5 separate regions of the Homo sapiens genome follow, and all the other regions are linked to region 1. Evidence: promoter capture Hi-C in human tissues and cell types (Jung and others, 2019). All regions are on one chromosome and are shown on one strand. The core of a region is centred on a gene start or on the middle of the fragment in contact, and the rest is flanking DNA. Distances in the headings are between cores, read along the strand shown.

Region 1 (2,604 bases), core at 62-2,561:
TTCTGATGTTTAAGGGCAGGTGCAGGGTGTCCCAGCTCATAAGAGAGAGCAAATTCTCCTTTCCTCTGCCTTTTTGTTCTATTCAGGCCCTCGGCCAATTGGATGGTGCCCACCACATTGGGTAACAACGGGTCTTCCTTACTCAGTCCATTGATTCAAATGCCAATCTCTTCTGGAAACACCCCAGAGTCATACCCAGAATTAACGCATCACCAGCTATCTGATAAACTTAACCAGTCAAGGTGACACCTAAAATTAACCATCACAATTATAAAAATAACTACTCAGAGAAACATTAGGAGCATGAACTGAAATTAGTTAATGGGACATTCTTAAACCAATGGCAGAAGCTCCTTCTTGGCCAGGAGCAGTGGCTCATGCCTTTAATACTAGCACTTTGCGAGGCTGAAGCAGGAGGATGGCTTAAGGCCAGGAGTTCAAGACTGGCCTGGGCAACATAGTGAGACCCCTATCTCTACAAAAATAAATAAATAAATAATAAAGTAAGGTGGTGGCTCACGCCTGTAATCCCAGCACTTTGGGAGGCCAAGGCAGGCAGATCATCTGAAGTCAGGAGTTCGAAGCCAGCGTGACCAACATAGTAAAACCCAGTCTCTACTAAAAATACAAAAACTAGCCAGGCGTGATGGCATGCACCTGTAATCCCAACTACTTAGGAGGCTGAGGCAGGAGAATCGCTTCAACTCGGGAGGCAGAAGTTGCAGTGAGCCAAGATTGCACCATTGCACTCCAGCCTGGGCAACAAGAGCAAAACTACGTCTCAAAAAATAATAATAACAATAAAATAAAAAACAAGCTTTTTTTTTTTTGAAACAGGATCTCACTCCATCACCCAGGCTGGAGTGCAGTGGCACGATCTTGGCTCACTGCAACCTCCGCCTCCCGGGTTCAAGTGATTCTCATGCCTCGGCCTCCTGAGTAGCTGAGACCACAGGCGCATGCCACCACACCTGGCTAATTTAGAATAAAAAAGAAGCTTCCTCTCTGCCACTCAGGTAGCCTTATCCCTAATCTCAGCCTCCGTCAGGGACTCCCTGAGGCCAGTTGGCTGAAAGCTGCCCAGGGAGTTCTAAGGATTTCAGTTTCTCTTTCCTTCTTGATGCAGCTCCCAGCTCACTTGGCCCTGCCCACACCTGTTCCCTCATCAGGCTCCCAGACGGGCCCCGCCCACTCATGCCTCTTAAGTCAAAGTGGAAATTCTCATTTCCAATTACCTTTTCACTTTACACACATCATCTTGGATTGCCCATTTTGCGTGGCTAAAAAGCAGAGCCATGCCGCTGGGGAAGCAGTTGCGATTTAGCCATGGCTGCAGCTTGGACCGTGGTGCTGGTGACTTTGGTGCTAGGCTTGGCCGTGGCAGGCCCTGTCCCCACTTCCAAGCCCACCACAACTGGGAAGGGCTGCCACATTGGCAGGTTCAAATCTCTGTCACCACAGGAGCTAGCGAGCTTCAAGAAGGCCAGGGACGCCTTGGTGAGTTCCTGTTGCTGTGGATGAACCACTTCTACGGGTGTCCCAATTACTGCCCTTCTACTGTGGGCTAGCCTCTAGCCTTCCAACTATGGCAAACCTCTATCCTTTCTGCACTGGGTTAAACCCATGCTGTCAGGCCAACTTCATCCTTGCTGCTATGAGCTAGCTTCCAGCCATCCTGCTGTGGGCTAACCCCTGCCCTTGCTCTCTAGGAAGAGTCACTCAAGCTGAAAAACTGGAGTTGCAGCTCTCCTGTCTTCCCCGGGAATTGGGACCTGAGGCTTCTCCAGGTGAGCTGAAAGTCAGGCCCCCTTCACCCTTCCCTTGACCCTCTCCCCCCTCTTCTTAAGTGGCCCCTTAGCCTTCTTTGTTTCCCTTGTCCTTCACTCTCTTGGACCTCTCCTCACCTGTCCTGTGCCCCTGCCACTTCAAAACTGCTCTCTTGACTCTGTCCTTCCCCTGGGTCCCTTTTATCATCTCCCATCGGCCCCACTTCCCTAGCTCGCTCACCTGTCCCTGTCACTTCCACTCTCACTCTTCATTTCTCTCCCAAATGTCTCCAGTCTGTCGCCCACCTGTGCCTTTCGTCCTGCTCCACTTCTCCCTGTCTGTTCCCAACACTGACCCCCTCTCCCTCTCACCTGCCTCTGTCACCTGTCCCTCATTATCTCTCACTGACATTCATCCAGCTCATGCTCCCCCCTCATCCACCCTTCTCTTTTTTTTTTTTTTTTTTTTTTTTTTGAGACAGAGTCTTGCTCTATGGCCCAGGCTGGAGTGCAGTGGCATGATCTCGGTTCACTGCAACCTCTGCCTCCCGGGTTCAAGCAATTATCCTGCCTCAGCCTCCCGAGTAGCTGGGATTACAGGCATGTGCCATGATGCCCAGCTAATTTTTGTATTTTTAGCAGAGACGGGGTTTCACTATGTTGGCCAGGCTTGGTCTCGAAATCCTGACCTCAGGTGATCCACCCGCCTCGGCCTCCCAAAGTGCTGGGATTACAGGCGTGAGCCACCACACCCAGCCCTACCCTTCTTCTCTGTGCATGCAACTGTCCCTCTCTTACTGTGCCCCCAACCTGCTTTCTCCTCACCCGTCCCCACCCC
Region 2 (2,604 bases), core at 28-2,527, 510 kb before region 1:
ACCATGTTGGCCAGGCTGGTCTTGAACTCCTGACCTCAAGTGATCCACCTACCTTGGCCTCCCAAAGTGCTGGGATTACAGGCGTGAGCTACCATGCCCAGCCAGGAGTGGTTTCTGTTCAGCTCCCACACCATCCCTGCCTTTCAGAAACAGATTTCAGTCCTGCCCGCCCCCCCCCCCCCCCCCGCCTCCCCCAGTCTACTTCCCCAACCCTGGATTCTCTTCTAGAGTCTTGGGCCCAAGCGGGCTATATTGGGGCTGGCGGGAGGGTCCCCACCTTGCTCTGCTTTTGATCTAGGTGGTGATGGAATGCTAGGCCACCCACCACCCTAAAACCCACCTCATCCTGACCTGCAAAATTGGTGGGAAGATGGTAACAGTCCTGGAAGGAGGAACAAGAGAGACTTGAAGGAGAGAAGTGGGACAGGAATACGCGGTAGACAGTTATAGACAGAGACAAACAGAGCCAGACAGCCAGCCCCAGAGACAGAACCCACAGGAGAGGCACGCCCAGAGGTGAGGAAAGGCAGAGGTTGGGGCAATGGGTCCTGCCCGGCTTGTGGAAAATCACTTCCCATCCCAGCCTCAGCCTCCTTCTCTGTACAATGGGGGTGACCCATGCTTCTCTCTGTTGGAATGGTGGGGTCCCAATCAGTGATTTCCTGCATATCCTGGGCAGCCCAAGGGCCTGGGAAATGACAAGCGTAGTCCTAGTGGATCCCCTCCTTTCACCCCTCCTGACTGAGGACTTCCCATGAACCCGGCACACTCCAGGACCCAGGGGTGCAGCACTGAGCCAACCAGGCCGCCCTCCGACCCTGTGAAGTCCCCCTGTCTGGCACTATCGTCGTTGTTGTGGCTGCTGTTCCACTGGAGACTTAGAAGCAGGGATTTCAGCGCAGACATTTCCAGTCTAGGCAGGAGGTTCTCAGCTGGAGAGAAGGGTCTAGAGTTCCCGCTGGGCTTGGCTTCTCAGGACCCAACATGTCTGTGGATAAAATGAGCATGAGAGACTCTCCTGTGTGCCAGGCAGTGGGAAGACAGGGGTGGAGGGGCGGTGGCTCTTATTATCAGCTCCTAGGAGAGGGGCAGTGCACCCGGGCTCTGGGTGATGGGGGGATCAGGGCCCCCAAGAAGAGGCGCCACTCCCACTTCGCCAGGCTTGCCCCAGGGCCAGGGTCCGTGCCAGGTGTGGGTGGTGGGTGGGAAGGGGTGGGGTGAGTCATCAGGGCCAGCCCCGCCCTGCTTTTATTTAAGGTCCCCAGCAGGCCCCACCACCACGGCTGCCCAACCCGGTCCCAGCCATGTCCGTGAGTGCTCCAGGGGCCCGGGGCGGGGCCAAGCAGGGAGGGGGCTGGGGGCTCCTCTTTCAAAGGAGCAAGTGGGCAGTGAGTGTGCCACGGACTGGCCTGGGCTGTGGCCTCCGGGTAACCCCCATCCCGACTGTCCCCTCTACCTCTTTGTGGCTTCCTCTGGGGCCCTCTTTGAGGATCTTTCTGTTTGTCTTTGTTGCTCTCCCCATCTGTTTCCCTGTCTGTTTCTGGTCTCTTTCCTGCCTCTCCGCCACCCTTTCCTCTTCCACTGATTTCTGCCAGTCTCAGCCCTGGTCGGCTCCTCTGAGGGGTGACCCACCTTCTGCCTCCCTCCTTCGGTCTCACCGGCTCACAGTGGCCCCTGCACCCCACTCTTGCAGAACGTCCCCCACAAGTCCTCACTGCCCGAGGGCATCCGCCCTGGCACGGTGCTGAGAATTCGCGGCTTGGTTCCTCCCAATGCCAGCAGGTGAGGCCCCAGGCCCTAGGGGTAAAGGGTACAGGTCTCAGGATCAGCTGACTCCCAATTTTTGCAGTCCAGAAGTAGGGGCCCGAGGCCACCTGTATCCACCAGGCTAGGAGTCCGAGGCCATTTCTGACCTCAAATCTGATGTATTCGTATTTGCCCCCGTGCCTTTGTGGCTGGGGTCCCTAAGTTTCCCTAAGCATTTGAGGTCCCTGGGTAATCTCAGGGTTCCTAGATATAGTCCTATGACTTCCATGTCTGAGTCCCAGGGAACTCTGGAAATACTCCAAGTCCTGGAGACACCCTGGACCCTGGGAGTCCTTGCCAAGCCATCCTTTGACTTCCTGGCTAAGGAACTTCGGGCCTTCTGGATTCTGAGGTACCCTGGAAATACTGGGGTTCCTGGTATTATTCTTTGTCCTGTAGAAGCTGAGGGTTCCCTGAGCATCAGGAGCACCCTGGCTATCACCCAGACCTCCTGGGCAGCTCCCAGGCTCTTTGGAAATGAGGGCACCCTGCCCTAAGCGTAGTGAGTTTGGTCTGGGTAGGTTTCTGCCAAGGGCCTCATGATATTTTGGCTGCCTTGGGAATCTAAGCTCCCTGGTCATTAGTCGCCCACCTCTCCTTCTGCGGTGTGTGCCTGTCTTCAGGTCCCTGTTAATTTGGGGGTACTCTGGGAATGGGGAGTGCCAGCCCATAAGACCTTCACTTTGGTCTGGGCGGTTTATGTTTTGTTTGTTCTTTCGTTTTTTTGTAAGGTGGGGTCTCGCTATGTTGCCCAGGCTGGTCTTTAACTTCCGGGCCCAAGCGATCCTCCCTTCTCCA
Region 3 (2,604 bases), core at 37-2,536, 450 kb before region 1:
CTATTGTCTTGGAGGCCCATGGAATCTACTTCCGTCTATGAAACGTTCTCCGAAAAGAGCATCGCTCGCTGGCTGGCTGGGACAGCTCTGTTCTCTGTGTTTCCTACTTCTGTGTACATTCTCGGGTTCAAGTTTGCTTGGATTTTGACCTTTTTTTTAATGTTTAATAAAAAAAGCAGTGTCTGCTGCCATGTTGCGTCTCTTTCTCTCTTTGTCTCTGTATGCCTCTGTCTCTGTGCTTGTAGCTGTTCCTTGGAGCGCGGTGTGGTGTTCTTGATGTAGTGAGCTCAAGTCTGCGGCTGTTTCTGGGGACGTGGTGGAGGCTGCATGTTCTGTTCTCTCCAGGAAGAGCTAGTGGTTTTCTACCCTGTGTGTTGGTGAGCAATGTGCAGAGGCAGAGCCGCTGAAGTATGGTTCCTGAGGGGTGGCGAAGCACCGCCCTCACTCCAGGTCACCTCATCAGCCCTCGTTTTTTTTTGGGCCCCAGCCTTGGGGCTGCCAAAGCTGAGAGGCATCAAAACCAATGCACAGCCAGCCCCCTGCCACTAGCCCCTGCCGGTCTGCACATCTTCTATTTATGTTCCTTGGAGAAGAAATGGTTGTTGCCATGTTTCTGTTAGCAGTCATGTAATGCCATTGCCCGCTCTGGTACATTCACTTGGTCACCAATTTGCCTCTGACCTTTGGAGGGAGCAGCCAGGCCCACAGGGCCCACTGTGAGGATCCTGGGGAAGAGTCTAGCCCACCCTGCCCACTGCTTCCCAGATGCAAGGGCGAGCAAGACAGGCCTGCCTAGGAATGGGGGGCTCTGGCCTCTCAGGGCCTGTGCGATGTCAGCATCGAGCCTCCTCCCTCAGCCCATGGCCTGGTCCGACGTATCAGACCAAGACAGACACCGAGATGGATGGTCTTGTTGGGGGGCTGCCGCTGTTTCTCATAGGCAATCCTCCACCTCTCCCTGCTACCAAAGGCAAACCATTCTTGACAGACACTAGGAAGGGAGTTGTCCATTTGGGCCACCTGCAGAGATGTTGCGTCCCCTCTACAAATGATGTGAGGCATGTCCGCCCTGGTCCAATCCAGAGTGTCTCACCTCCACAGGGTCAGCTTGCTCACAAGGCTCACTGCAAGAGCCCAGGAGACCTCATCGCCCCCCAACACTGTCACTCCCCCAAATCAGACCCTCTCAACAGCGCAGAACAAGAGGACAATTCCTGGTCCAGCAAGAATGGAGTGAGTGACCCTCACCAGACTCTCAAAGGAGCCACTGCTGGTTTCTAAGGCCGCCCCCACGCCTCATCCTCAGTGAGGCCCTGCTCCCCGCCCATCCAGGCTTCTGCCTTGCCTCTGTATCCTGAGCAGCATCGGAGGGCCCCAAGCAGCAGTGAAGACCCATGGAGGCCTCTCACTCCCCCATCCCACTAGGGTGTCCAAGTGCTGACCCCAAGGCCCTCCCATGTCCATGGGGGGCCCAATGGCATTACATAACCCTGAGCCCAGGCCTATTAAGTGCACTAGTCGAGTGAAAGCAAGGCGGGTATGTTTAGAACAAAGTGGTCGTCAAGATTACCTTGTCCACTGAGATTGGGGTTTGTGTAGTCCCAAGTATCCTGATCATTCTTGAACACATTCAAGCGTGTAGGCTGCAAGGACAGGACAAGACAAGACTTGAGGTCAGCCATGCCCCAGCTCACCTGGAAGCTGACAAGGGGCAGTCAGTCACCTCCCAGATGTACCTTTGCGTATTCGATCTTCAGAGTGCAACAGCCAGAATAGATATCAGCCCCATTGAGAGAGGCCTTGGCCCGCTGGGCACTTTGAACTGAGTCAAATGTGAGTCAAGTTAAGGAAAGTCCCATCACAGGAGATCTTTGAGAAGGGCTTCAAGTTACCCCAGAGTGTGATAAGGACAAGGTAGCACCCCAAGACTGTGGTACAGACGGAAGCTTTGGGATTAGCTCACTGCCCAGCCACTAGCCTCAGGTTAAGAGACCAAAACGGTGTTGATGGACTCAACGCTGCCCCGGGTGAGCAGTCACTGGCCAGAGTTCTCTCATAATCTGCACCCCGACCCATGGCCACCAGCAACCTCTTCTGCCACACCACTTTCTCCGTCTCAGCCCTCTCACACCCTTCGACTAAATCTGAAACATCAACTCGATTACAGCTCTGCCCTGAAAGTCCATCAGTGGCTTTTTCCTGCCCCTGCCCCAAGCATCGCAACGCTGTCTAGGATGCCCTAAAAGCTTCTTCCAATGTCTATTCCAAACCCGTCTGCTTGCCAGCCACTTTGCAATCCTCAGGTCTTTCAATTTCTCCATCCAACACAAGCTCCTTCTGACTTTACAACCTTTGCAGAGGCTGTTTCCTCCACCTTGAGTATAAGCTCCTATTTGCTCATAGGACATCACCTCCTCAGCAACCTTCACACATGCCCCACCTTTTTTTTTTTTTTTTGGATATGGAGTCTCGCTGTGTTGCCCAGGATGGAATACAGTGGCACAGTCTCGGCTCACTGCAATCTCCGCCTCCCAGGCTCAAGCGATTCTCCTGCCTCAGCCTCCAGAGTAGCTGGGATTACAGGCGTTCACCACCATGCCTGGC
Region 4 (2,604 bases), core at 51-2,550, 370 kb before region 1:
CCTAGCGCAAGTGAATTAGCTTCTCGAAGCCTTAGTTTCCCCTCTGATAAAATGGGAGAAATAATGGCACCTACTTCATAGAGTTGCTGTGAAAATTAAACGAGGTTAAAGTGAATAAAGCACTTCAAACAGGCTGGGAGGGGAGTCCAAGAGAGGAATGGGAAGACGTGGGGACCCCACTATCGTTAGCACCTCAACACAGAGATATTGTGAACCCGGTCCTAATTCCCTTTTATAAGTGCTAGCAATTTTATTATTATTCACCGCATATTTGCAACATCTAGAACACCGGAATATAGCAGTTGCACCTTAAGTATCAGTTTAATAGAACCATTCATTAATGGATTCATTCATTCATTCATTAACTCTATTTAACTGCCTGCTATGTGTGGCGGAGGTGCACAACTCTCCCTACCTCTCTCTCTAAACGCAAGAGCTCCACCACACCCCAGCCCTGACCCCGTCCGATTCACACTTGGCTCCCCATTTTCCTTTGTGGTCTTAGGGAAAGGCTGGCATGAGGTTGCAGCACGGAGGGCAATGTCACATAGCAAGTTCCTAAAGGACAGGAGGTACCCAGCGAGCAGTATGAAACAAGCGCATAATGGGTGTCCAGGACACAGTAGGCATTCTTGGCACATAGTAGGGCCTCAGCACTCACTGGACAACTGGCACATAAGTGGGTGCCATGCACAAGACGTTGGCTAACTTGGGAAATAACTAAAATTCCTACTACAGGTTCGCCCCCTGCCGGAGGGCATCTTGCAAACCCAATTCTTCCGTAAAGCAAACGTCTGCGCCCCCCGGCCGGCGCAGGCGCACTCACGATCGCGGGCAGGTCCGCCGAGCGCAGCTCCCCCTTGCGGAGCTCCAGGGCGTGTGCGGCCTCTTCTGGGCATGCGCAGAACCGCTCTATGTCCAGCTGAGGGAGTGCGCTGTAGCCCTCGCGCGCATACTCGTACAGGAGGTTCCGGTTTCGTTTCTCTGTAGTGAAACTTCTCCTTGGACTATCGTTGGAGATGCAGCCTCCCCGGGGCCGGAACCCCCGACGAGTCAGCAAAGGCCACAAGCGCCGCGCCATGGACGCAGCCATCTTGGACCGGGAACAAGGCGGCACTTCGTCCCGCCCACTCCGCGTTTAGACCAATTGCAAGGCAGCGAACCTGACCGTGACGAGCCAATCAGATCCTGAGGAAAGTTGACCGCGATAGAGTCCTTCGTCGCCCAATCGTCGTCTGTGTCCCGCCTCTTCAGTGACGCGAGGCAGAACCAGCCAATCCCTGCACGGATAGCGCCCGGAAGAGGCTAGAAGCTGGATTCAGCGTGTCCGCGACCTCACCTTTAGGTCCTGTGAGGTCGGTGGAATCCTGGGGTCCTCCAAATCTACCAGGCCATCTCCCCAGTTTCCCAGTTCTTCCTGCGTGCGGGCGAGAGTGGTTGGGCCCTCGGGAACCCACTCAGAGCGAGGCTAAATTTACGGAGGGACTTTCTGTTAGCAGCATGAGGGCCTGTGGTTAGACCTATAGAGGTATTTCCTTTGATTTAAGCCAGAAAGTCCTGAGAGCGGATCGGGGAGCATTTGCGGATCGGTCACTTTTTCCTCCTTTCTGAGTCTCTTATCCCCTACCACAGGGACGGCCCAGGTGGCAGGATGTCCTGGTCTGGCCTTCTCCATGGCCTCAACACGTCCCTAACTTGTGGTAAGTGGGGGACTTGGGCTTCAGGGACGAGGCTAGAGGGGGAGGGTTATTCGCTCTTGGACTTGTGTGCCTCCGTCGGAGCCCCGAGGGAAACGGGGGTGGAAAAACACGGTGGGGTTTTGGCAGAGCTAGGGCTGCTAGAGCAAGAGGTGGGAAGCAGCTGCATGGAGGGCTACTGCGTGTCAAGCGGCGTTTGGGTCAGTTTTATTATTTATTTATTTAAGATCTCCCTCTGTCGCCCAGGCTGAAGTGCAGCGGTGTGATCACAGCTCACTGCAGTCTCGACCTCCTGGGCTCAAGTGATCCTCCCGCCTCAGCCTCCCAAGTAGCTGGGACCACAGGCCTGCAGAACCACAACCAGCTAACTTTTTGATTCTTTGTAGAGAGGGAGGTCTCCCTGTGTCGCCCAGTCTGGCCTTAACTCCTGAGCTCAAGTGACCCTCCACAGCCTCCAAAAGTGCTAGGATTACATGCATGAGCCACTGAGCCTACTATTATTTTAAACAGCATTAAAAATAATGCTTCCTGGCCAGCCGTGGTGGCTCACGCCTGTAATCCCAGCACTTTGAGAGGCCGAGGTCAGGAGTTCGAGACCAGCCTGACCAACATGGTGAAACCCCGTCTCTACTTAAAAATACGAAGATTAGCCGAGCGTGGTGGTGGGTGCCTGTAGTCCCAGCTGCTCAGGAGGCTGAGACAGGAGAATTGCTTGAACCCAGGAGGCAGAGGTTGCAGTGGGCCAAGATTGAGGTACTGCACTCCAGCCTGGGCGACAGAGTGAGACTTTGTCTCAAAAAAAAAAAAGAAAAAAAAAAAAAAGGTAATGCTTCCTTGAAGAATAAAGAGTTACTTTTGTCTGTAGATAACATTAGATGTGAACAAATGCATCTTTGTAAAGTGCTTT
Region 5 (2,604 bases), core at 31-2,530, 310 kb before region 1:
CTCACTGCAACTTCCGCCTCCCGAGTTCAAGCAATTCTCCTGCCTCAGCCTTCTGAGTAGCTGGGATTACAGGCGCCCACCACCATGCCTGGCTAATTTTTGTATTATTAGTAGAGATGGAGTTTCACCATATTGGCCAGGCTGGTCTCAAACTCCTGACCATGTGATCCACCTGCCTCAGCCTCCCAAAGTGTTGGGATTACAGGTGTGAACCACCGTGCCCGGCCAGGAAGATCTTCTGAACAAAAAAGGAAACTTGCAAGGAATCCTCTTGGAAAATGTAGGGCACAAAAAATATCCATTTAGATATAAATAGAGACATAGAGACACAACCCCTGGTAGGGATAGAGACAGGTACACACACACACAGAACTGAAGGCACACACACACACACACACACACACACACACACACTTTTTTTTGTTTTGTTTTGAGACAAGGTCTTGCTCTGTTGCCCAGGCTAGAGTGCAGTGGCATGATCATGGCTCATGACAGCCTCGACCTCCTGGGTTCAAGTGATCCTCCCACCTCAACCTCCCAAGTAGCTGGGACTACAGGTGTGCACCACCACACCTGGCTTTTTTTTTTTTTTTTGGGGTAAAGATAGGGTATCACCATGTTCCCAGGGCTGGTCTCCTGGGCTCAAGCAATCCTTCCGCCTCAGCTTCCCAAAGTGCTGGGATTACAGGCGTGAGCCACAATACCTAGACAGGCACAGACTCATAGAGTAAGCTCCAAAAAAATTCTCAAGCCACATGCCACCTGGAGAGACTACTGTCTGCAAGGGTGTCACAGGAGGCCGTGTGGGGGTCTGGGTTGCCTCCCACCTAGATACTCCAGGATAATCTTCTTGTCTCAAAACCTATAACTTCGGCCAGGTGTGGTGGCTCACACCTGTAATTTCAGCAGTTTGGGAAGCTGGGGCAGGAGGATAACTTTAGCTTAGGAATTCGAGACCAGCCTGGGCAACGTAGGGAGACCTCGTCTCTAAAAAACAAAGATCCCCCCACCCACCTTAACGTCATTATATCTGCAAAGTTATTTTTGCCATATAAGGAAACATTCACAAATTCCAGAGGTTAGGACCTGGATAATTTTGGCAGAAGGGGGGATTATTCAGTCTACCATACACCATAGTTATTTATTTAAATTTTTTTTGAGACACAGTCTCACTCTGTTACCCAGGGTGGAGTGCAGTGGTGCGATCTTGGCTCATTGCAATCTCCACCTCCTGGGTTCCAGCAATTCTCCTGCCTCAGCCTCCCAAGTAGCTGGGATTATAGGTGCACTCTGCCACGCCTGGCTAATTTTTGTATTTTTAGTAGAGATGGGGTTTTACTATGTTGGCCAGGCTGGTCTCAAACTCCTGACCTCATGTGATCCACCTGCCTTGGCCTCCCAAAATGCTGGGATTATAGGCGTGAGCTACCATGCCTGGGCTCTTTTTTTTTTTTTTTTTTTTTTTTTTTTTTGAGATGGAGTCTTGATCTGTTGCTCAGGCTGGAGTGCAATGGCATGATCTTGGCTCACTGCAACCTCCATCTCCCAGGTTCAAGCAATTTTCTTGCCTCAGCCTCCCTAGTAGCTGGGACTACAGCCATGTACCACCACACCCAGCTAATTTTTTTGTATTTTTAGTAGAGATGGGGTTTCACTGGTGTTGGCCAGGCTGGTCTCCTGACCTCAAGTAATCCTCGGCCTCCCAAAGTGCTGGGAATACAGGCATCAGCAACCACGCCTGTCGTCTTGCTATGTTGCCCAGGCTGGTCTTGAACTCCTGACCTCAAGTGATCCTCCCACCTCGGCCTCCCAAGGTGCTGTGATTACAGGCATGAACCACCATGTCTGGCTCGGACCATAGTTCTTTTATAATAATAGTGGTCATCATTCTAGTAGTTGTTATCTAATCACATTTTATAATCATTAGTTCTAAAATATTAAGTGCCAAAATAAATAAATAAAAAAGAAAAAAAATAAAAATAAAATAAAATCTTAAGTGCCAGGTTCTGGGCTAAGAGATCTAGGTACAGTATCACATCTAATTCTTCCAGCAACTCTCTGGAATAGGGACCTTTGCTACCCTGAAGAAACAAGTAGAGACAATAGCGCTAAGAAACAGAGAAGCCTAGGCCGGGTGCAGTGGCTCACGCCTGTAATCCCAACACTTTGGGAGGCCTAGGTGGGTAGATCACCTGAGGTCAGGAGTTTGAGACCAGCCTGGCCAACATGATGAAACTCCATTTCTATTAAAAATACAAAAAATTAGCCAGGCGTGGTAGCGGGTGCCTGTAATCCCAGCTACCTGGGGGACTGAGATAGGAGAATCGAGGTAACGGTTGCAGTGAGCAGAGAGAGTGCCACTGCACTCCAGCATGGGTGACAGAGCAAGACTCCATCTCAGAAAAAAAAATAAATAAAGAAATATAAAAATACAAAAAGTTATCCAGGCATGGTGGTACATGTCTGTAATCCCAGCTACTTGGGAGGCTGAGGCAGGGGAATCACTTGAACCTGGGAGGTGGAGGTTGCGGTGAACCAAGATCGCACCATTGCACTCTGGCCTGGGTGACAGAGCAAGACTCTGTCTCAAAAAAAGAAATTATA

What was found. Contacts are between HindIII fragments. The study calls those that stand out against the background at their distance.
Region 2: a contact is called between the fragment with the promoter of LGALS7B here and the fragment with the promoter of IFNL1 in region 1, in 2 of the 25 tissues and cell types used here (heart left ventricle and mesenchymal stem cells).
Region 3: a contact is called between a fragment that was not itself captured here and the fragment with the promoter of IFNL1 in region 1, in 1 of the 25 tissues and cell types used here (thymus).
Region 4: a contact is called between the fragment with the promoter of MRPS12 here and the fragment with the promoter of IFNL1 in region 1, in 2 of the 25 tissues and cell types used here (heart left ventricle and mesenchymal stem cells).
Region 5: a fragment that was not itself captured here is called in contact with the fragment with the promoter of IFNL1 in region 1 in 2 of the 25 tissues and cell types used here (IMR-90 fibroblasts and mesenchymal stem cells).

What each region holds. Positions count from the first base shown.
Region 1 is chr19:39,295,096-39,297,699 of GRCh38, forward strand. It overlaps IFNL1 (interferon lambda 1), which reads left to right and starts at 1,312. Exons shown (of 5, transcript NM_172140.2): 1 at 1,312-1,497; 2 at 1,710-1,787. The coding sequence starts at 1,327. The HindIII fragment of the contact is 11,779 bases long and covers 209-2,604 here.
Region 2 is chr19:38,787,923-38,790,526 of GRCh38, forward strand. It overlaps LGALS7B (galectin 7B), which reads left to right and starts at 1,278. Exons shown (of 4, transcript NM_001042507.4): 1 at 1,278-1,310; 2 at 1,694-1,782. The coding sequence starts at 1,305. The HindIII fragment of the contact is 15,298 bases long and covers 1-2,604 here.
Region 3 is chr19:38,842,272-38,844,875 of GRCh38, forward strand. HNRNPL (heterogeneous nuclear ribonucleoprotein L) reads right to left here. Exons shown (of 13, transcript NM_001533.3): 5 at 1,737-1,833; 6 at 1,571-1,643. Among named protein-coding and RNA genes, the nearest start is that of HNRNPL, 6.4 kb to the right of the region's middle. RefSeq lists enhancers at 478-557, 640-1,140. The HindIII fragment of the contact is 4,246 bases long and covers 1-2,604 here.
Region 4 is chr19:38,929,644-38,932,247 of GRCh38, forward strand. MRPS12 (mitochondrial ribosomal protein S12) reads left to right here and starts at 1,301. Exons shown (of 3, transcript NM_033362.4): 1 at 1,301-1,355; 2 at 1,633-1,700. The coding sequence starts at 1,652. SARS2 (seryl-tRNA synthetase 2, mitochondrial) reads right to left here and starts at 1,120. Exons shown (of 16, transcript NM_017827.4): 1 at 827-1,120. The coding sequence starts at 1,093. RefSeq lists an enhancer at 745-1,204. The HindIII fragment of the contact is 13,053 bases long and covers 1-2,604 here.
Region 5 is chr19:38,981,692-38,984,295 of GRCh38, forward strand. No RefSeq gene overlaps it. Among named protein-coding and RNA genes, the nearest start is that of FBXO17, 7.3 kb to the left of the region's middle. The HindIII fragment of the contact is 8,720 bases long and covers 1-2,604 here.